Regions from separate parts of the Homo sapiens genome. Here all the other regions are linked to region 1. Evidence: promoter capture Hi-C in 16 types of primary human blood cells and fetal thymus (Javierre and others, 2016). All regions are on one chromosome and are shown on one strand. The core of a region is centred on a gene start or on the middle of the fragment in contact, and the rest is flanking DNA. Distances in the headings are between cores, read along the strand shown.

Region 1 (3,055 bases), core at 357-2,856:
TTTTTAACAAGCATCCCAAAGATGTATCCAAATAAAATGTTTATTATTTAGGTAATATAGTACATTCCACCAAATATGTGATCTGAAGCCTTCCCAAAGGTTTAAGATTTAATTCAGAATTTTATTTTTTGAAAATTTATGTGGCCTAAAATAGAACTTGAAAGTAGTCCTTCTCAAATGAGATCACTTCTGAATGTGCTCCCCTTCAGCATATTAAGATGACAGAAAACTACATGACAAGAGAGTCAAAAAAATCATTCATCAGTTCTATTTACTTCACATCTGACCTAGGCAAGCCCTGGCAAAGGAGGTATTTGGAAGATGTGGGCAGGAACCCCCAGTTGTAAAAGGGAGAGTCCTCATTAGTAATGCTGTTTCTTCGGACCACAAATTTTTTTAAGGACTGAGTTCTCCACTCAAAAATGAAAAATCAGTTTCTTGGTTTAAAATGTTCATATGGCATGTTACATTATTTTAATTGTATCCCCGGTCCAGTGACTACCATTTAAAATCAGTGATAACTAAGAAAGTTCAAAGGCTCCAAACCAAGGCATCAACTGAAGCTCATGTATAGCAGGAAGGAGGTGACTTGATGTAAAATAGCACATAGCATGCAGTCTTTTGTCCTTTCCTTCCCCTCCAGTCCAGGCATTTGATTTTTAAATCAATATTCTTAGTGGATAGCATTCTTCATCCCAATAGACAAAAATGTACCTAGATGATTTCATACCACCTCCCCAAATGAAAACCGAAGTTGTCAAAGAGAAGGTTTTCTTCAATTCATTTTTTAAAAGTGTTTGGTACTTTTCCACTTTGTCTTAAACATGGACTTATTTTTATATGCAGTGTTACACAGTTTAGATGTATAAAACTTAAATTGACCTGATGAATGATGAGAAGGAAAAACTCCAGTCATAACAGAATGAAATGACAACCTTACTCAGTTTTCCTTAACAAAGAAGTGTGTTCCCTTCCTTACATTCTATAGGCAAGAAAAAAGAGGGCAGGGGAAAGGGATGGGGGGCAGCCTGGAGTAAAATTAAATTATGCTAAGATTTGTTAATATGTATTTAGTAAATAGTATTTCTATGTTTCATAATATACCTTTCCCCAACTCTTCTTACCTCCACCTCCACCCTGCTATGTTTAATAGACTTGAAAAATTACTCCCTTTTTCAGAGTTGATCATAACTCAGGATAGTCAGGAAGAGCCAAACTATTATGCCTTTAGTAAACATAATATTCCTTATATATTTTCATTCCTTTATTTATGCATCAAACATTTCTTGAATTCATGATAATGTCCTGGACCCTGGGAATACCAGAGAAGTAACAGAATAAAAGTAGCTTACAAAATAGCTAAATAAGCAATTACAATGTAGTGCTACAATAAGAGAAAAGTTTGGTTGTCTTTCCAGGGAGAACTGTTCTGACTTCAGTACTGAAGCAGCTATCTGAGTTTTAGTATACTGTTATCAACTTTACCCAACACATGCTAATGTTCCAGAACATTGTGATTTTGACTTCTAACAAAGAAAGGAATACTAGAACTCATTTCAGCCAATCAGAAACTGAGCTTTTCATTCTGAATGGAATTATATGATTCAAGATGTAAATCACACAGATGTTGGTAGAGAAAAAGGCATACTGGTATTGAAACTGTAAACTGGCCTGTTTACTTCGTCTCCTAACAAAAAACACTTTGGATTCAGGTTCTCCACAGCAGTCTTCCACTGGCCACAGTGAGGGGAGCTAGGTTTCCCCAGTCTCCAGCTAGAAAAACTCAGAACATCTAAAGATCTGAAAGATGGAAAAAAGAGAACTAAAGGTAGGAAAAAAATAAATGAAACTTCCAATTCTTTCCTTATGGGGTTACCCTGGTAAATGTTTGTATGCCTTGGAGGCCACATAAACATTGAGGGGTGTTTCAACAGACATCCTAGAAGTTGAAAGCCAAAAGAAGGTAAGGAAATAACAGCTGATGTTCAGTTACAGGTGAAGATAATTTTAATGGGTTTGGGGCATGATAAATTTCAATGCTCTTTATCGTATAGTTTGGAAAAAATGTTGTACTTGCCAACATCTTTTATAACTCAGCATTTAAGTATGATTTTTTTAAATCCTCAGAAAATTGATACCAGATTCTTTAGTGCAGTTCCCTGAGATTCTGAAGTAAACCTTCTCAACTGTGAATGCACTTTAAAACAATGAATCTCAGTCACAGGAAGTTAAGATTGCTGAGAAAGAAAAAAAAACTTGTATAGACTTTTATAATTACTAGGGTCTAAATCTGAATAAATCACATTGAGCTTATGACACTGTATGTTTCCTATTTAAAGGGATATACTAGCTGTCTCTATTACCATAGTACAGGTGCTCCTTGACTTATGATAGGGTTACATCTCAATAAACCACCACAAGTTGAAAATATTGTAAGTCAAAAATGCATGCAATACCCTGATGAACCCATGATAAAGTAAAAAAATCCTAAGTTGGGGAGGACGCAGAGCAAGATGGCCAAACAGAAGCCTTCACTGATTGTTCTCCATGCACGAACATCAAATTTAACAACTATCTACACAAAAAAGCACCTTCATAAGAACCAAAAATCAGTGATCACAAAGTGATCACAGTACCTGGTTTTAACTTCGTATTGTTGAAAGAAGCACTGAGGAAGATAAGAAAGACAATCTTGAATTGCTGACACCACCCCTCCCCCATCCCCTGGCAGCAGCCACATAGTGTGGAGAGAGAATCTGTGCACTTGGAGGGAGGGCACAGCGATTGTGGGACTCTAGAATTCAGTGCTGCCAATACGGGGCAGAACTTAGCTGTTGCCAATGGAGGGACCATTTAGACCACCCTTAGCCAGAGGAGAATTGCCCATCCCAGGTTTCAGAAACTGAGTTTTGACTACCTCCACCACCATGGGCTAAAGTGCTCTGAGGTCCTAAATAAACTTGAAAGCCTGTCTGGGCCACAACAACTGCAATACCCAGGCAAGTCCTAGTGCTGTGCTGGGCTCTGAGCCAGTGGACTGGGGAGCGCACGATCT
Region 2 (3,055 bases), core at 290-2,789, 340 kb before region 1:
GGCAGGTGATTTTTCAAATTTAAGACTTTCAAACACAATCTTTTGACGTAGTCTCTCTGTGTCTGGTCCTATTTTTCTGGTCCAGGTGTCTGGTCCTATTTTTCCAGCAGTGAGATAGACTATGAATCTTTATGATATTGGGGAGAAAAAAAGAAGCATAGGTAAAACTGCTTTAGAAAGCCAGCAACTCTACACATTTCTCATCTAATTTAAATTGCACACTTAAACCTTCTTTAAAGGACTGATCTGGGAGTCAACAATCCAGGTTGTTTTTCCAGGATATGCCACTGATGAGCTTTGGGTTTTGGCAAGGTGCTCAGCCTTTCTCTATCTGTTTACTGATGTATCAAATGGAATAATAATCCTTGTCTTGTATACCTTTCAGGATTGTCAGAAGATCAAATTAATCAAGTTATGTGGAAATCCTTTAAAAAAAACTATGGTGTAGTCTATAAATGTGAGAGATCCTCCCTGTCTCTCACTCTCTCCACATACATGCACGTGTGCACACATACACACACATACACTCACATTTGATTACTAGATGTACCATTTTACTTTATGATGTAGTTATAATGACTTAAGTATGATTGTCACTGGAATATTTTTTAGCTGCTAATATCATTATCTCTAAATGTGATATTTTGCCCCAAGACTCAGAGATAAATGTCCTTTCCATTTGTATGTCGACTTGGAATTGACATGGGGTGACGTGGAGTGATTATGAAGATGAAGAAATGTTCATTTCAAAATCACTTTGAGGGGTTGTGGTATTTTTTGTGCTTTTAAAAATTAAAAAAATATGGTTGTAGCTATAAATTTTAAAGTTGGCAAGAATGCTGTTTCCATCAAGGAAGAAAAGTCAAGCCATATTTGAAGACAATTATGTAAGTATTTTTAAGTTCCAAAGACAGAAAATTAAGGTCTGGGGTTGAAGAAAACAAGCATTTGTTTCATGAGATTTTTAGAGAGTTGCCAAAAGGGAAGGAACTGCCTCCCAGATTTATAGGATGGTGATGTACATAGTACTTTACACATGTAATTTTTTTCAACTTGGATGACTTTTTGTTCTAATTTTTTAAAAAATGAAAATGAATTGCTAAAATTGGATTAATAAAATATTTACTTTCAGAGTAGCATTCAGGACATCTCAAAATTCTTCTTTCTGTTATAGAATTTATACTGTCATGTTTAATATGTGACACTTTTTTTCCATCTTCTAGTTATTTGTTAGACATGGCCTGTAAAATATGTACCGTGTGTAATGTGTCCAAATAAGCACTGCTCTAGGCTTGCTTTGGAATTTCCTGGCTTCTAAATGTTTTTTCAACTATAATATAGTTTCTGAGCCTGAAAGTTCAGCATTTCAGAAGAAAACGTCAAATTTCTTTGTGACTTAAGGGTTTTAATTTGTCATTCTCTGCTTTAGAAAAAAAAAAACCCTAAATTACATATATTTTTACATAATATAGCTAGTTTTTGCTATTTAAGAAAATAAGAACTGGCCCAATTGTTCCTTCATTCACTTCCCCTCGTCCTCAGTAATCCTCTTTTGAACAAAAAGGCAATCTTGTTAGTGGAATGCCTTGGGAAGTGAAATTTCAAACTCCTCTGCTCTTCTTCATTTGTTCCATGACACAATTTGCTTTCTGAGTTACTAGGATTTATGCAGTCCAATGGTTAAAGAGAAAGAGGGACTATAGATATGTGCCGTTAGAGTGATATCTCTATACACCGCAAGCAGCAGACCAAGGTCTGTTTGTTTTTCAATCTGCTCAGTAGGTCTCAACACCTGTTTTCTCACAGTTGAAATGATACAGTGTGCAGATTTCAGTTCTTGTTATTTGAGCACCATGAAAATTCTATGGGTCTTAAGATTTGTTATATCTTTTTCCTGATCCTCTGGAATGCCTCTATTGCCGTTTTACTGAAGGCAGTGCATTTCAACCTTGCCACTAAATTCCAGAGCAATCTTAGTCTTTCCCTTTACATTCTTAGTTTATTTTTCCCTAATGCATAATTATATTCTATTGTAATAATGTTTCTAGTTCCTAATCTTACATGAGAATGTTCTCTCTCTTGTGGAATCAAAACTTAGGTATTGGAGTATAAAAAGATCCTTTTTTTGACTTATATGCAAATTTAGGAATTAAATGCTTGGTTGCTTACTGAGATTGTTGTCAAGTAGAAATACAGGATTGAGCAACTTGAAAGGATACCATTCACATATCCTGTTCAAATAAGTTATAAATTCCAATGTTCCAAGCACCATTTTAAAAATAAGTAGACTTCCAGTTTTCTCTTTCATCCTCAAATATGTTATTTTAAACTTCATCTTCATCCTTAACATGAATCTTAGGAGGTAAGTGATTCTTCTTTTGCAGACTCCCAAGTTCTGTAAGATTTTCTTGCATAATAGCCTGAGCCTTCATTAAAGATCCTGGAGGAGAAACGGACATTGTTTCTTCTCCCTTTGGCTTCAGTCTGATTGGACGGAGCCTGGACTATCACAGTGTAACCTGTGATAAGTTACACTCTTGGGACTCTTGTGAAGTGTTCATAATCTTTCTTGGATAATATAAAAGAACAGTCTAAAATTGCTTTACTCTGTAGCACCATTGCACAATAGAACTTTCTGAGATGATGGAACTATTGTATAATCTGTGCTGTTCAATACAGAAGCCACTAGCTGTATGTGGCTATTGAGCAGTTGAAATGTGGGTAGTGCAATGAAGGCAATAAATTTTTAATTTAATTCAATCTAATTAAAGTTTTAATCTGGCTACCAGCTACTGCATTGGACGGCAGAGCCCTACAGTATAGTGACTCCGGCTGATGGCTCTGGGACCTTCACTGTGGGTCCTACTTTATTGACAGCTTAGTGGTGACCTATGGTGGTAGCTACTGAGAGAAAGAGCAAGGAAGCCTCTTAATTGCTACTAAACAAGTCTAAAAGAGCTTCTTTACTCTATAGCACTGTTGCACAATAGAAGTTTCTGAGATGATGGAACTATCGTATAATCTGTGCTGTTCAGTACAGAAGCTACTACCTGTA
Region 3 (3,055 bases), core at 211-2,710, 320 kb before region 1:
TGGTTCATTTATTAATAAAATTTAATTATTTTTCCAATTCATGACTTTCCCCTTCTCTCCCTTTCCTTTTAAAAATAATTCTACTGACTATGTTAGGTTGAGAAGCAACATAGTGCCTTGGTTCTTCAGAGCTGACACAGTAGAGTCACTGTGTCACTATGAGCAAATTAATTAAACCTTACTGTACCTCAGTTTTCTAATCTGTAATAAGCTGATAATAATAGTAACTGTTTCATAAGGTTTTTGTATTAAATGTGATAATACTAGTTAGGTACTTAGGTATGGTGTTGGGTGTTTTACACACATTAGCTCATTAATTCCTCTCAACAACTCTATGAGGTAGGTACCCCTATTATCTCAGTTTTACAGATGGGAAAACTGAGGCATGGAGAGGCAAAGTAACTTGCCCAGTCACACAGATCATAAATGATAGCACCAGGATTCAAATCTTAATCACCATGTTTAACCACAGTTCTAATCACTGTGTTTAACCACAGTTCTAATAGTTTGTAAATTTCATCAAGCATCTCATTTTGTAGTCTCAATTATTTATAGTCTCATCATTTACATTAATTTGCTTTTTTTATTACTTAATTTTTTTTTTTGAGACAGTTTTTCTCTGTTGCCCAGGCTGGAGTGCAATGGTGTGATATCGGCTCACCGCAATCTCTGCCTCCCAGGTTCAAGCAATTCTCCTGCCTCAGCCTCCTGGGCAGCTGGAATTACAGATGTGTGCCACCACGCCTGGCTAATTTTTGTATTTTTAGTAGAGACGGGGTTTCACCATGTTGGCCAGGCTGGTCTTGAACTCTTACCTCAGGTGATCTACCCACCTCGGCCTCTCAAAGTGCTGGGATTACAGGTGTGAGCCACCACGCCCGGCCACTTAAAATTTTTCTTAAAATAAAGCCATTAGATCTGAAAAGAATGAGCTCGGCTTTATAGAAATTAATCTGATGAACCAAAAAACTACAATGGCTATTTGAATTTGTTGCCATTTTGTTTTTTAATTCTATAAAAATATCTCCAAAGGGGCCAGTCAATAGCTTGTAAAATATAATAATCATTATTTTATTATAATAAAATAGAGATTAGAGTTTATGAAAACCACACTTTGTCAAATATACAGCCTGTTAATTTGTTCTGCGTCTTTGAGATCTAGAGTTTTATTTGGAATAGTATTTAATGTATGCCACTTATGTTTTTTCCCCAGAAAATAAGCAGATGTTCTTTCCATATTTTTACAGCCAAGTTGCATCTTAATGGAGGGTTTAGAGCATAAAAACCAGTGAAGAGATTATCTTATCTACTCAAAATTACTTTGAAATACCCCTTCAATAGGCAGAATCTAGGTTTTCTGCTATGTTTTTACTTTGGGACAGTAGAGGCATGGTCTTGTTTCACCAGAGGAAGAACAACTGGTGAAACAAAGGCATCTCTCCTCCTGCCTCCCTCCGGCTGCCCCATAGCTCCTCTCTCTCCCTCCCTGCTTCCCTCTTTTCCTCCCTCTGTCTCTTTTATCCTCTTTGATGCTCTCTGTTTTACAAGTGTGGTGTGTTTGATTCCAAGTAAGCAAATGCCTGTATTATTCCAATTCCTTGGAATTTTGATAACATTTAAAAATGTTAATGTTTCTCACCAAAGATATTATTTTATTAACCACTGTATAGCTTATTTAGCACAAAGTATCCATGGAGCCAATAAAGTATCCATTTGTTACTTGTATCCAAAGTACATAATTTTGAATCTATAATTTTCAAGTTAAACAATAAATATATGAACACATTTTTACTGTGAAAAAGTTGAATAATGCAGATAAAATAAATACACCCTTGACCCCCACCCAATCCCACTCACCTCCATAGCTACCACCACTGTTATCATTTTGGAGTATATATACACATATATACACACACAAGCACATGGGTACACACCCACCCACACACAAAGACACTGTGATTTAAAAAAATAAAAATAGACAAATATTGTACATGTTTTGTTCTAAAATTGTAAACTCTACCAAGGCAAGGATTTTTGTCTCTTTTGCTTATTAATGTATCCCTAACAATGTCTAAAAGCTGGTGTATGGTAGCTGCTGAGTAAATATGTGAAGTTGACCTCACTTTATTCATTTAATGATATGTCTTAGGGATTTTTCCATGTAAATTCGCAGACATAAAATGACAAAACTTCTTTGTGGCATAATATTATAGTGTTCTACAGTATGGATGTGCCATACTTAATTCACATTTCCCTAAGGATAGGTATTTCTGCTGTTTCCAGTTTTTCCAAAACACCTGAACCAGTTCATAGACCCAACAACTATATATGTAAGTACCTCAATCCCCAGTACTGGATAATTATATTTTATATAATTTTTGATAATCTAACAGAAATAATAATATATTGTTGTTGTGATTTGCATTTTACTTATTGAAAGTTACAGAGGCCAGGCGCGGCGGCTCACGCCTGTAATCCCAGCACTTTGGGGTGCCAAGGAGGGTGGATCACGAGGTCAGGAGATCGAGACCATCCTGGCCAACATAGTGAAACCCCATCTCTACTAAAAATACAAAAATTAGCTGGGCGTGGTGGTGCATGCCTGTAATTTCAGCTACTCAGGAGGCTGAGGCAGGAGAATCACTTGAACCAGGGAGTTGGAGGTTGCAGTGAGCCCAGATCGTGCCACTGCACTTCAGTCTGGGTGACAGAGCGAGACTCCGTCTCAAAAAAAAAGTTACAGACCAGCCTTATACCTATTTAACAGACTTTGGTATCCCTTCTCCTATGAAATGTCTGATGTGTCTTTTGCCCATTTTAGGGAACCATTGTATTATTTTCTTATTGATTTTTAGGATTTTAAAAATAGTCTGGGTATTAGTTTTGTTTGTATTATATATAGTACAAATATTTTCTGCTTATCTATCTCTTGACTTTCAGTTTTTTTACTGGATATTATAAAACAAAAAGTTATAATTTTGGCTTAGAATATTTTAAACATTTTATGGCATTTATTTTTTATCTTATATTTTCTTCCAATATTTTTGTGGATTTT
Region 4 (3,055 bases), core at 416-2,915, 310 kb after region 1:
AAGAATTTCAGAGCTTGAAGACTGGTATTTGGAATTAACCCAGTCAGACAAAATCAAAGAAAAATGAATGCTAAAAAATGAACAAAGTCTTTAAGAAATATGGAATTATGTAAAGTGAGCAAACCCACAAATTACAGACATTCCTGAGGAAAAAGAAGAAAAAGTAAGTAGTTTGGAAAACATATTTAAGGAATAATTCAGGAAGATTTCTCTGATCTTATTAGAGATGTAAACATTTAGGTAGAAGAAATTCAGATAACAGCTGGAAGATACTATACAAGACAAACATCACCAAGGCATATAATCATCAGACTATCCAAGGTCAATGTGACAGAATAAATATTAAAGGGAGCTAGAGAGAAATGTCAAATCACTGATAAAATAAATTCCATCAGACTAACAGCAGACTTCTCAGCAGATGCCTTACAAGCTAGAAGAGAAAAGTGGGCCTATTTTTCACTTCTTTAAAGAAAAGAAAATGCTAGCCAAGAATTTTATATCCTGCCAAACTAAGCTTCATAAATGAAGGAGAAATAGACTTTTCCAGACAAGCAAATGATAAGGGAATTAATCACCACTAGACTGACCCTACAAGAAATGATCAAATTAGTCATAAATATGAAAACAAAAGGACAATACTTGCCATCATAAAAGCACATGTAAAAGAAAGCCCACAGACCCTATAAAGCAATTGTACAATTGAGACCCAAGGCAACTAGCTAACAATGCTATGACAGAAACAAAACTACACATTGAATATTAACTTTAAAAGTAAATGGCCAAAATGCTCCACATAAAATATATATACTATAGATCTAGGAAAACTGGATTAAAAGAACCAAGACCCAATCATCTTTTGCCTACAAGAGAACGACTTAATGGTTAAAGCACCTACGGACTCAAAGTAAAGGGATGGAAAACATGTACCATGAAAATGTAAAACAAAAGCAAATAGGAGTAGCCATCCTTATTGTATCAGATAAAACAAACTTTAAACCAACACAATTTTTTAAAAAGACTAAAAAGGGTATTATGTAATTATAAAGGGTTCAATACAACAAGCAGATTTAACCATCCTAAATATATGTGTACCCAACACCAGGGCATGCAGATTCATAAAACAAATACTGCCAGACCTAAGAGAAGAAATGGACAGCAATACAGTAGTAGTCAGGGACTTCAGCACTCCCCTGACATAACTAGAGAAGTCATGGAGGTAGAAAGTCAACAAACTCTGGACTTAAACTGAACTCTAGACCAAATGGACCTAATAGACATTTACAGAACATCCTACCCAACAACCACAGAATATACAGTTTTCTCACCTGCACATGAAACATTCTCCAAAACTGACCATATGCTTGGCCACAAAACAAGTCTCTACAACTTCGAAAAAATTTAAATCATATCAAATGTCTTCTTGGACCACAAGGAAATAAAATTAGAAATCAATGCCAACAGGAACCCTGAAACTTACACAAGTACATAGGAACTAAACAACTTGCTCCTGAATGACTTTTGGGTAAACAAAATTAAGGCCAAAATCAAATTTTCTTTGAAACAAATAATATAGAGGCACAAGATACCAAAACCTCTGGGAAACAGCAAAAGTAGTACTAAAGGGAAAATGTATAGCATTATATACCTACATAAAAAAGATAGAAAAATCTAAAATTAGCAGCCTAACTTTGCACTTCAAGGGACTAGAAAAGCAAGAGCAATCCAAACCCAAAGCTAGCAGAAGAAAAGAAATAACAAAGATCAAATCAGAACTAAATGAGATTCAGACAAAAAAAAATTACAAAGAATCAACAAAATGAAAAATTGATTCTTTGAAAGGATAAATAAAACAGGTAGATCACTAGCTAGTTTAAGCAAGAAAAAAGAATCATGTAAGCACAATCACAAATGGTAAAGGTGACAACATTACAACTGATACCACAGAAATACAAAAGATCTCCAGAACTGGCCCGGTGCAGTGGCTCATGCCTGTAATCCCAACACTTTGGGAGGGGGAGGCGGGCGGAACACCTGAGGTCAGGAGTTCAAGATCAGCCTGGCCAACATGTTGAAACCCCGTCTTTACTAAAAATAATAATAATTTAAAAATTGGCTGGGCATGGTGACGGGTGCCTGTAGTCCCAGCTACTTTGGAGGCTGAGGCAGGAGAATCGCTTGAACCCAGGAGAGGGAGGTCATAGTGAGCCAAGACTGTGCCATTGCACTCTAGCCTGGGCATTGAGAGTGAAACTTTGTCAGAAAACAAAACAAAACAACTCCAGAATTATCAACATCCCTATGTGTACACCCTAGAAAACCTGGAAGAAATGGATAAATTCCTGGAAACATGCAACCTTCCACGTTTGAACCAGGAAGAAATAGAAATCCTAAACAGACCAATAACAAGTAATGAAATTGAATCAGTAATAAAGAAAAATCTTTCTCCCAGCTAACACGGTGAAACTCAGTCTCTACTAAAAATACAAAAAAAAAAAAAAAAAAAAAAAAAAAAAAATTAGCCAGGCATGGTGGCGGGCGCCTGTAGTCCCAGCTACTCGGGAGGCTGAGGCAGGAGAATGGCGTGGACTCGGGAGGCGGAACTTGCAGTGAGCCGAGATCGCACCGCTGCACTCCAGCCTGGGCAACAGAGTGAGACGCCGTCTCAAAAAAAAAAAAAAAAAAAAAAAATCTTTCAACAAACAACAAAAGCCCAGGACCAGACAGATTTAAAAACAAATTTTACCAGATGTGCGAAGAAGAGCTGATACCAATCTTACCGTAGTTTTTTCACACCATTAAGGGGGAGCTATTCCTCCCAAGCTTGTTCTATGAAACCAGTATCACCCTGATACCAAAATCAGGCAATGACATTGAAAAAAAAAAAAAAAACTATGAGCCAATATTTCTGATGAACATATTCACAACAGCAAAGTCATGGAATTAACCTAAGTGTTGGTGAACATTTGACTGTATAAAGAAAATGGGTTATATATAGTATGCCACGTTTGCCTAACCCAGATTCACAAAGATTTTCCCCTGTGTTTTTTTTTTTCTA
Region 5 (3,055 bases), core at 158-2,657, 300 kb before region 1:
ACAGAAAGTTCTGAGAGGGGTCAAAGCAGTGCATTTGTAGAGTCCACTTCAAGGCCAGCCTATGTACAAGGTTACACGTTTGCTCCTTATTTCTTGTTTCAAATTATGTTCAGACATGCTGTTTCTATAGCTTATCAGAAATTCTGCAATGATCAAATGAAATAATATACATTAATAATAAAATATCAACAAACTAGACATGGGAATTTTGTGAGCCCCCTCCTCAATGTGAATATGAATCCTCTCCTACTGTGAAGTTCCTAGATACAAAAGTTCAAGAATTACATTCCCAAAGGTGTTTTTAAGAAGTTAGCTTTGCCACCATGCATTTACCGTCAAGGGGGAAAGCCATCTATGTGCATACTCTTGGAGAAGGACACTTGAAACATGGCCGTCTATTGCAAAATTCAGGAATTTGCAGGGACCACAGCTCCAGTTACCCACCAGGATATTTTTTAGTTGCCTTCCTTTTCCATACAGCATATTCAAAACCTCCTAATTTTTACTTTCCTTTTTCCTTTGCATTTCTCCTCCTGCCTCCTGTTACAAAATTTACTGGTCTAAGAAGCCTAGGCTTCCTGAGGAGACATTCTCCCCTCTATCTCATTAATCCAGAGCCAGCTGGAAAGCATGTGCTTAGGAGAAGAGTGAGTGGGGTGGGAGAGACCCTTAAGTCTGTAAATAAGCCACACCAGTTAAGGTTAGCTCTCCACAGTTCCCTTCTTGCCCTGGCCCAGAGCACGGAATGGCACTGATGGCAGCTGATCTAACCCTTCCTTCCTAGGCCTGGCTCTGACAGGTTAATACTAGAACCTATAGAGTGCATTGTGGTATGTACAGACCTCAGCTACCTTATAGTATAAAATTAGGAAATCTAGTTCACCTCTCGAGGCCTGCCAGGCCTGTAAATGGGAAGACTCTTTTCCCTATAGTTAAATCCCTGTCTCAGGCATGCCTTAGAAACGAGTCTGCTAGCCAAATTCAAGGACAAGTAACCTGTATCCTGAGGATGCCTGTGCTCGCAAAGGTAGATCTTTCCTAACCAACTGGGTGACTGGACTGTCCATTGCCTTCGAGGAGCCCATGCAGCTCCCCAGCATTTGGCCAGGTAGGCTCCAAGGTATGTGAACTACCTTTATAGAAGCAGCTGCTTATCTACTGAGAAAGCCTAGTTATAAGCTTTTGTAATCTACCAAGATCAAACTATCTAACGGTGCATGGATTATAACCTTTATCTAGGCTGCAGCAGTTAAAAAAAAAGACAGCTGCATAGCTGAAAAAAACTTGCATGGTCGACCATAAGTGAGATCAAGGTCAAACCCCCTGCTCACAGGGTTCAAGACCTTGGCCACACTAGAAGTCTTCCACATGTACTTTTGTCTTCCCATGATTTTATTCCTTGTCTCTGTATTGATTTTATGATCCAGTATGTCAGCCAGATGTTGGGGTCTGAACTTACCCGTAACATACAGGTTTTGCTGACCTTGACAAAATCTGTTTTCTCATAGCATGGAGGAAACTAACAGAACACATATTCTCTTAGGGTAGGCTAATCACCAAGAGAAGAGGCTGGGCTGTTCCACTCTTCCCATTGCTGGTCTTGCAGTTGCTTTCAAAGTTTTCCTATTTGGCAAAAGAAGCTTGGGTGATATTTATGGGCAATAAATTTAAAAAAAACAGTTTGTCTCCTGCTGAACAAATGAGAACATGCCCTTTTAGCTCTCAAGGTCCTTTCTAGTCATGTAATTATGGGTTTGCTTGTTCTTGTTTACTCGAATACTCAAAACAGAATTTGATATTCAAATACTAAGAAGATGTAAGTGGCTGTTGTAGTGGACATTAATAGATTTATTTTGGCAGTTTTAAATTTGAATATAAAATTAACATTTTATATTTTCTCTTTCTCTGTGAAGGGCTTCTACCACTAATCCTATTTGTCTTGGCATTCTTTTCAAATTTTATTTAGTCTTTGACTTCTGTTCCCACTTACTTTCCTTTTTCTTTTCTTTTTATTAATTTCCCCTTATTGGTCTTACTCCTTGTGGTCTGACCATTTTTCCTGAATGTCTGCCTTTTCTTATCTCATTCCACTGTTTTACTTTGATTTTGCAGCTTCTTTCCCTCAATTCCTTAGTGAAAAGTACATTAGGAATTGTTCTTTCTAAAATCCTATTTTGAGCTGATTGTTATCAGAAAAACAAGTCCATTTGTGAAAAATGTGCTTCCTTTATTGTAAAAGAAAGGGCTGGGATTGGACTACTGCTTCTTAACCTTTTTATGATGGCAGCTTAATTGCTGACAACATCCAGTGCTGAACTCACTTCCATGGGTAACTGGTAAGAGATGTGGGTCATGTTTCTTCACAACATGGCAGCTGTAATCTTCTTTTTCCCTTCAAATTAGAAAGCATATTGCATTGCAAGTGATATAATGTCATAGGGATAATCTTAAATATATTCTAATTATTTGTATGTCCATTCTTTGAAAATTTTAACTGTTATTAGTAAAATTTTTAAATTTTTAAATTAAAATTAGCAAAATAATTGTCCTGTAGCTCAGTTGACTAAATCCACTGGACTAAATGATGTTTAATAAATATCCTTTTCAGCTACATTAAATGCTTCTAGAAATAGTGGTGCATCTTTGAGGAATGAATCTAATGGTGCCAGTAAGATCAGGCAATTTATTTAGCATCACATCAGCTTAAACTCTGAAAACTCCATTCTTGTCTTCGTTTACACGGTACCTGCTTTTTTTTTTTGACTTCATTGGACTCTTATTCCTTTTATCTTCTCATTTTCTACCTCTCCAGTGGCACCTCCTGACCTTATTTCTCTGCTTGACCTAGATTGAATGGATGATCACCTGAATTACTCTCTTGCCTAAAACCTTCAACATCGTTACACTTCTGTACTTAGGTCACCCGGATTCAGAAACTCAGAACCCTGGATCAATTCCCATTTATCATCTTATTTTCTACATCACGTGTGCAAAGTGCTGCTGGAAAAGAGAACACAATTACGCTGATTGTGTCCCTGAAAGTTTGTTCTTTGTT
Region 6 (3,055 bases), core at 242-2,741, 290 kb after region 1:
TACTGCTAATATTACTTTGGTTTATTTCGTACATTCATGTAAGAAGAGAATGTAAAATATTAGTTAGAAGTAAGCAAAAATAAAGGTGTTTTTTTTTCCATCTGAGTTCATGAACCCCTTGTATTTTATCCATGGGATCCTTGGGATATATGGACATCAGTTGATAAGTAATAACTCTGAGAAATGAAAGTGGGTAAGATAACCCATCTTCACTTAATTTTGTCAGGAGCTTGATAAGAGTCAACCCAATATTGATTGAGTGACTTAAGTAAAGATATAATTGTGAATTATGACAGAGATCCTTCAGTTTTAGATAACAAGAACAAAAGTTAACATTATATTGTAAAAACACTTTCAGTCTTCCATTTGCTTTTCTTTGTTATCTTGATTTTTAATTATTTATCGAATAACTTTTTAACAACAATGAAAAATACATCTTATTTCACTTTTCTCTCATGCCTTGGCAAAGAAGATAGAAATATAATTCTTTATGTTTGAATACATGAAAGAATGAGTGAATGAATTTGTTATTGGTATTCTTATTCTCTAGCTTCAGTCTTTCAATAAGTCTTTCTCTGAGATGCTAACAAGTAATATATAAAATTGATTACATAGAATTTCCTTGTCTTTTATCTCTCCAATCTTTTGCTTTGTGGAGATTTCAACACTTTTAGCAATAAAAAAATCATGTATTTGTATATTAAGGTCATTATATCATCAGCACCTGATTCACTGAAATTTCTTAAATTTAAGGACATCAGTGAATGACTGTCTGGTACTCAGAAAGTCCAGACAAGTGAGGCCTTTTCTTCTGCTTCCATTTTCCTTTTTTATGATTCATAGCTGACAGTGCAAAGACAGAGGTGAAAGAAACAGTGTAAAAGCAGGAAGACAGAAAGGGTGGTGAGAAGACAGAAAAGTAATAGTGAGACAAGGGGATGGAGGAGAAGAAAAATAAAAGAAATCTTTATTTGTGCCAAAAATGTACTATCATTTCATCATTCACATGGATCATTTGTAGCTGCTTTGTGTATACCTATGGGGTGATAAAGTTTCTATAAAAGGGTATCTCAAAGTGTGGACTGAAGAACGCCTGTGGTGTTTGTTTCTAATGTAGTTTCCTAGACCTGCCTCCCAATACACTGAATCAAAATCCCTGTGGGACCCAGTATTGTGCATTTTCACAAGCTTTCCAAGTGGTTCCAGTGCTCATAGAGAACCACTGATCTTGCTAAGAGGTAAAAACTTGGCTGACTCTTGCTAAGGTAAAGTGTATCTAATTTCCACCTTCTGAATTAGGCAGGAAAGAAAATCTGCTTTTTCACCCACTGATATCAACACTGCACTATAATTCAGGGATTTTGAAATTTGGCCAAATAATAGGTTAAGTGTTTTATTCATTTTAGCCAGTGATTAACAAGAAAAAATGGTAGCTTGCACACTGACTTAATTTGCATGGGCCTCTTGTTTTCCTCCTCAGCTTGTAAGAAAAGAAGGGACAGAATCAAGCTCTCCTGCTGATCCTGAGTATGTGAATTTGTTTAGGGGAGATTTTTACCCATGGGAATCTGCCAGTCATTCTTGGATGATAGCTAGCACAGGCAGAAATCTATATATTGAAGTACCTTTATATTATTCTCTAGAGAGAAAGAGCTATAAAACCAACCCCCAAATAATTTACCTCAGCTTTTGAAAGCATAGTCTTAATTATATTGCCTTTTCTTTTAGCATTGGGATTTGTCTTCCTAAGCCTCCTTTAAAATTCATTTTTTTCCTTTTTATGAAGGTACTTCATGAAGCTTAAGTATCCAAAATAGCCGTACTCACTGTAGAAGTCATCTAGAGCACTTTTCTAAGCTCTCTTTAGTCCACAATATTTCTATTAATTCCCCAGAGATACCAAACAACATTAAGAGGATCTCTGACAATCTGGCCATCTCTCTAGCCTCATTCCACATCTCAAGATCAGAAACAAAGATTCCTTAAATGTAAATGTAAAAGTAAAAAAAAATTAGATGAGAATGACACTATTTGAAGGTGCAAAATTCTGAGAGCGAAGTAAACTATCAACCTCCCTCTGATAATAAATAGAATACAATTTAAAAAGACAATACTAGTGATTTTGAAGTCTGTGATTTCTTTTTGAAGACAATTCTTCACATATGCATTTTTACTGATATTTAAGTAATTTCAAAACTGGCTATACAGCATTTAACTGAGGCACTAACCACTTTCTTGGTTTTCTTGGGATCACTGTCATTTAAAGGAAAGAGGCCTAAATCCTGGAAAAATAATCTATTTGAGAATTATGACAATTCCTTTCTACCAATCACCTGAATGACACACTATTATGCTTTTCAGGACAGACTCTTTACCTTAAGAATTAGTCAATCTACGTTACTCTGTTAACATTTTGTTATTTTATAGGTTAGATAATATAGTATCACTTCAAAGTTTAGAGTATTTTGAAGCATGAATTACAGAATTAACAGTTGTAAACAGGTTGCAAGAGATGGAGAAGTCAACCAACATCATCTTTCATCCTTCTGTGTACACAGCCTAGTGGTACTGTGGGTATCTGTTCATATTTAATAACTTCTGAGAAGTTGCTAAGTGGACTCCTAGTTGCTTCTTTTTTCATAATGTCCAAGGTTTCTTTGAGAAATTACTTTATTTATCAACTATGTAATAGGAACAAGTTTTAACCATGCAGGACTGATGAGAGTCTGTCTTAATTCATATGGACTGGCTTCTGTGTCTTTCTTATGACCTCCATACACTCTTGACTGCCAGTTCTGCTTTGCTTATCTGGATTGGGTTGGTCTGGAGTTGAAATATAACCAAGGACAACTGGATTTTTGTCCAGTGGATTATAATGTTTAAGTATTTTTACCGACTTTTGGAGAGAAGGCTGTTGAGGAAAGGTAGAAAGAACAGTTGTATATTTCTGACTCAAATGTGGTCCAAGGGGATGCCCTATGGACTGGAACATGGAAAGTGATCTTCCATTCTCTGTACTGGTTAGACTATACTTGGAATTCTGTGCCTAGTTCAG
Region 7 (3,055 bases), core at 347-2,846, 270 kb before region 1:
CTGTACTTTTGCTTCCATATTTGTGTCTTTAGGACCTATTCAATAGTGCTTGCACAAGCCCATAAGACTCACCTCCCTTTTTTCCCTGTCACTGCTTGCATATTACTGGAAATGATCTAAGTGTGACTAAATACAATCTAATACTTGTATTATATGTGGATACCAACTCCATTCTTTTCAAAGTATCTGTGTGTTTACTCACATGAAGTCCTCATAGAGGAGCCATAAACCACTGAACCAGTAGTCAGCCAGTATTCCAGGTGTAGACCTGCTTCTGCCACAGAAAGTGAAAGCCTTTTTTTCTGCCCACTTTCATTTATGTCCATAAGACATGCCTTGGAAATTTTTGTCAAGGCAAACAAAAGGTGGTTTTGATCAGACTGCACCATGATTTCACCTTAGTCTGTACATCTATATGCCCTCAAATGGTTCTACTACCTACACCAAATAGAATCTTACAATATTTCCATCAAGTGACTTAACTTTATACTAATCATTATGACTCGTGAAACATTTTAAGGAATTTTCTCCAGAGACAGCTATAGAAATTGAGTTCCCCTTAGAATATATGTCCATCTCCTTGAGTTTCCAGTTAACTGAAGTGTTTGTGGGTGCTCTTGCCTCCAAATAGTTCAACGAATATTTATTCTTGCCTACTCACCTGCTAGTCACAATACCAGCAACTGGGCATACAAAGATTAAGACCTGACTCCTGCCCTCAAAAAGCTCACACTTACATAAAAAGTTAGGAATACACATCTGTTACCAAGTGCAGTTTAAAAAGTTGGTCATTCTGCTCTGAAAAGTCCTTGGCATTGATTTGGAAATGCCTTAATAACTTTTCTTACGTCTGTAAAGTTATCACTTGAATACCCAAAATGTATTGGGCCCTAGAAAGCAAGGTTGGACATGACAAATCCTTGACTTTGAGGAACTAAAGTTATTTAATTTGCTTATTTCAAAAGTTGTTGACCAAAGTGATTATTGAATCAATAGATGGTTTTGGGTGACTACAAAATTTGCTCTATTATAAAGGGTTATTAAAAGGAAACGCTGTTTCAGTTAGTTATTGTTCCCAATCTTGGCACATTTTTATGACTTTGGAAATTCTCAAATTGAAACCAGGACTGAGGCTTCTTTCTGTGTACCTCTAAAGGGGCAGGGTTACTAGTGTTTACAATTATTTTGTGATATCCAGATATGCGTACTTCAGCTAATATTTTATAGCCTTAAGTTTTTTTTGTTACAAGATTAGTGCACAAGTTCAAACAATAGAGAGGTATGTCAAGAAAAAAATTAATCATCATTATCCATTCCAACTTCTTAATCATCATTATCCCTTCCAACTTCTTAACCCTTTCTGTCTTCCCAAACTAATGGTAACTGTTTGGCATGATTCCTTTGACTACTTTCTCAATGGTCATTTTACAGCTTCTTTACAGATTACAAAATCCATTCATGTACAACGTATTTGTTTCTTATAATAATCCTATAGTGTAGCTATTATTATCATCCCCATTTTATTGATGATAAAATTAAAGCTCAGAGAGCTTAAACATTATTTCATCAGAGTCCACAAATGGAAAAACTCAGTTTTTTTCTGTGCTCAGAAGGATATTGTCAACCTACAGAAACAACTTGTTCCCCTACCGAATTCTTATAGTGCTTATATTTCCTGTTGTTAAAATGCCAATTAATTATCTGCTGCGCTTTCACAGTTTTGTACTAAGACGTTACCTGTACTGTTATTTTATGTATTTAAACTTTTTTTTCCTAGATAAAATATAAGCTAATTGAAGGCAGGAACAATATATTTGTATTTTTTTTTTTTTTGACTGGCTGATGGTAGTCCATTTAGTAAACTGTTAAAAGAATGAGTAAAGAGCTATATGGTATGCATGTGGTTTCTGGTCAAATATTCGTCATGATAATAACTTAAGAATTACAGCTCTCTTAAAAAAATCATAAATAAAAAACATAGTGTGCTTTTAATATTTATATATGTGTCTGCAGCTACGCACCAGATTGAACTATTCTTTTTGAAATAAATGTAAACATTGAACCAACCATATTTCCTTGCTTATTTTTGGCCTTCTAATGTTCTGGAAGCATCCTGTGCAGCTACCAGTGATATAATCTTGTGTGAAAAGCAGGATCTAACCAAGTTGTAGTGTTTCCTTTCTTGTTGTTTTCTCCTTCCCAGTTTGTATCTAAGATAAAAATCTAGCTGACCTTAGTTCATTGCAAATTAGAGAAGATAGCCCCACTTAGTTTGGCTTTATGTTGTGTAGATTAGCACTTTTTTTTTTAATTGGAGGCAATGCAGTCCCCTAATCTCCTGCATTTCCTATTTTGTTAGGGCTCAAAGGAATAGATATGTTGTAGCAGAGCATTCCACTTTTCTTCCCTTTCCTGAATCACAAACAAATGGCTTCCCTCAAATCACTGCAGTGAAGTGCCTTCTTAGGCAGAGATGCAACATCAGCCTGTAAAATAAAGGAGAAATATTTCAGAGGAGTAAGAGATTTTCCTTCAACAACTGAAAAAGAAGTTAAATCAGAAAGCTATAAATCATAAACTTAATGCAACTGATTTTACAGTCTTCAGAAAGTTTGCAAAAGACAAAGATTGTGAGAGAATTGATTTTAAAACGTACATTTACGGACGCATGTTTTGTTTTTGCCCGTCTCTAAAATTTCCATTGCTGAGTCTGTTTATTTAGAAATAAGCTCCTAACCAAAAGCAGTATATATTTTATGAACATTCTTTCCTCAAATCAATTGAGAAAGATAATGTTACGTCTTTGAATTTTACTAACCACTGGCGTGCACAGCAGCCATTTTTATATTTCAGTAGCATAATACATCCAGCAGACAAACCTTAAAAACTCTAGCTCTATTGGATACCAGTCGCAAGAAAGTAAATATATGATTTATGACTCCAATAAAATTGGAAGCACTGTCTTGAAATCTTTAGGGGAAGGCAAGTTAAAGGGATTAGAAAATTGTTGCTGGCCTTTTCAGGCAGATTTTAAGTGAGAGCATACTAGCAGTGT

The links. The method cuts DNA at HindIII sites, captures the fragments that hold promoters and counts their contacts. A CHiCAGO score of 5 or more calls a contact.
Region 2: a fragment that was not itself captured here is called in contact with the fragment with the promoter of C1orf105 in region 1 in 10 of 17 cell types (activated CD4 T cells, naive CD4 T cells, non-activated CD4 T cells and 7 more); the score reaches 11.2 in activated CD4 T cells.
Region 3: a fragment that was not itself captured here is called in contact with the fragment with the promoter of C1orf105 in region 1 in 9 of 17 cell types (naive CD4 T cells, total B cells, activated CD4 T cells and 6 more); the score reaches 9.4 in naive CD4 T cells.
Region 4: a fragment that was not itself captured here is called in contact with the fragment with the promoter of C1orf105 in region 1 in 1 of 17 cell types (erythroblasts); the score reaches 8.2 in erythroblasts.
Region 5: a contact is called between a fragment that was not itself captured here and the fragment with the promoter of C1orf105 in region 1, in 9 of 17 cell types (naive B cells, total B cells, total CD4 T cells and 6 more). The highest score is 8.7, in naive B cells.
Region 6: a fragment that was not itself captured here is called in contact with the fragment with the promoter of C1orf105 in region 1 in 4 of 17 cell types (erythroblasts, megakaryocytes, naive CD4 T cells and 1 more); the score reaches 10.2 in erythroblasts.
Region 7: a fragment that was not itself captured here is called in contact with the fragment with the promoter of C1orf105 in region 1 in 3 of 17 cell types (M1 macrophages, non-activated CD4 T cells and total B cells); the score reaches 6.8 in M1 macrophages.

Annotation. Positions count from the first base shown.
Region 1 is chr1:172,419,079-172,422,133 of GRCh38, forward strand. C1orf105 (chromosome 1 open reading frame 105) reads left to right here and starts at 1,607. Exons shown (of 7, transcript NM_139240.4): 1 at 1,607-1,828. The coding sequence starts at 1,808. The region is part of intron 1 of LOC102724528 (a long non-coding RNA gene); the gene reads right to left. The HindIII fragment of the contact is 10,347 bases long and covers 1-3,055 here.
Region 2 is chr1:172,083,821-172,086,875 of GRCh38, forward strand. All of the region lies in intron 12 of DNM3 (dynamin 3), which reads left to right. Among named protein-coding and RNA genes, the nearest start is that of MIR3120, 53 kb to the right of the region's middle. The HindIII fragment of the contact is 8,924 bases long and covers 1-3,055 here.
Region 3 is chr1:172,101,274-172,104,328 of GRCh38, forward strand. The region is part of intron 13 of DNM3 (dynamin 3); the gene reads left to right. Among named protein-coding and RNA genes, the nearest start is that of MIR3120, 36 kb to the right of the region's middle. The HindIII fragment of the contact is 5,224 bases long and covers 1-3,055 here.
Region 4 is chr1:172,729,297-172,732,351 of GRCh38, forward strand. No RefSeq gene overlaps it. Among named protein-coding and RNA genes, the nearest start is that of FASLG, 72 kb to the left of the region's middle. The HindIII fragment of the contact is 2,306 bases long and covers 513-2,818 here.
Region 5 is chr1:172,123,969-172,127,023 of GRCh38, forward strand. The region is part of intron 13 of DNM3 (dynamin 3); the gene reads left to right. Among named protein-coding and RNA genes, the nearest start is that of MIR3120, 13 kb to the right of the region's middle. The HindIII fragment of the contact is 461 bases long and covers 1,178-1,638 here.
Region 6 is chr1:172,712,897-172,715,951 of GRCh38, forward strand. No RefSeq gene overlaps it. Among named protein-coding and RNA genes, the nearest start is that of FASLG, 55 kb to the left of the region's middle. The HindIII fragment of the contact is 611 bases long and covers 1,187-1,797 here.
Region 7 is chr1:172,146,479-172,149,533 of GRCh38, forward strand. All of the region lies in intron 14 of DNM3 (dynamin 3), which reads left to right. Among named protein-coding and RNA genes, the nearest start is that of DNM3OS, 3.2 kb to the left of the region's middle. The HindIII fragment of the contact is 3,683 bases long and covers 1-3,055 here.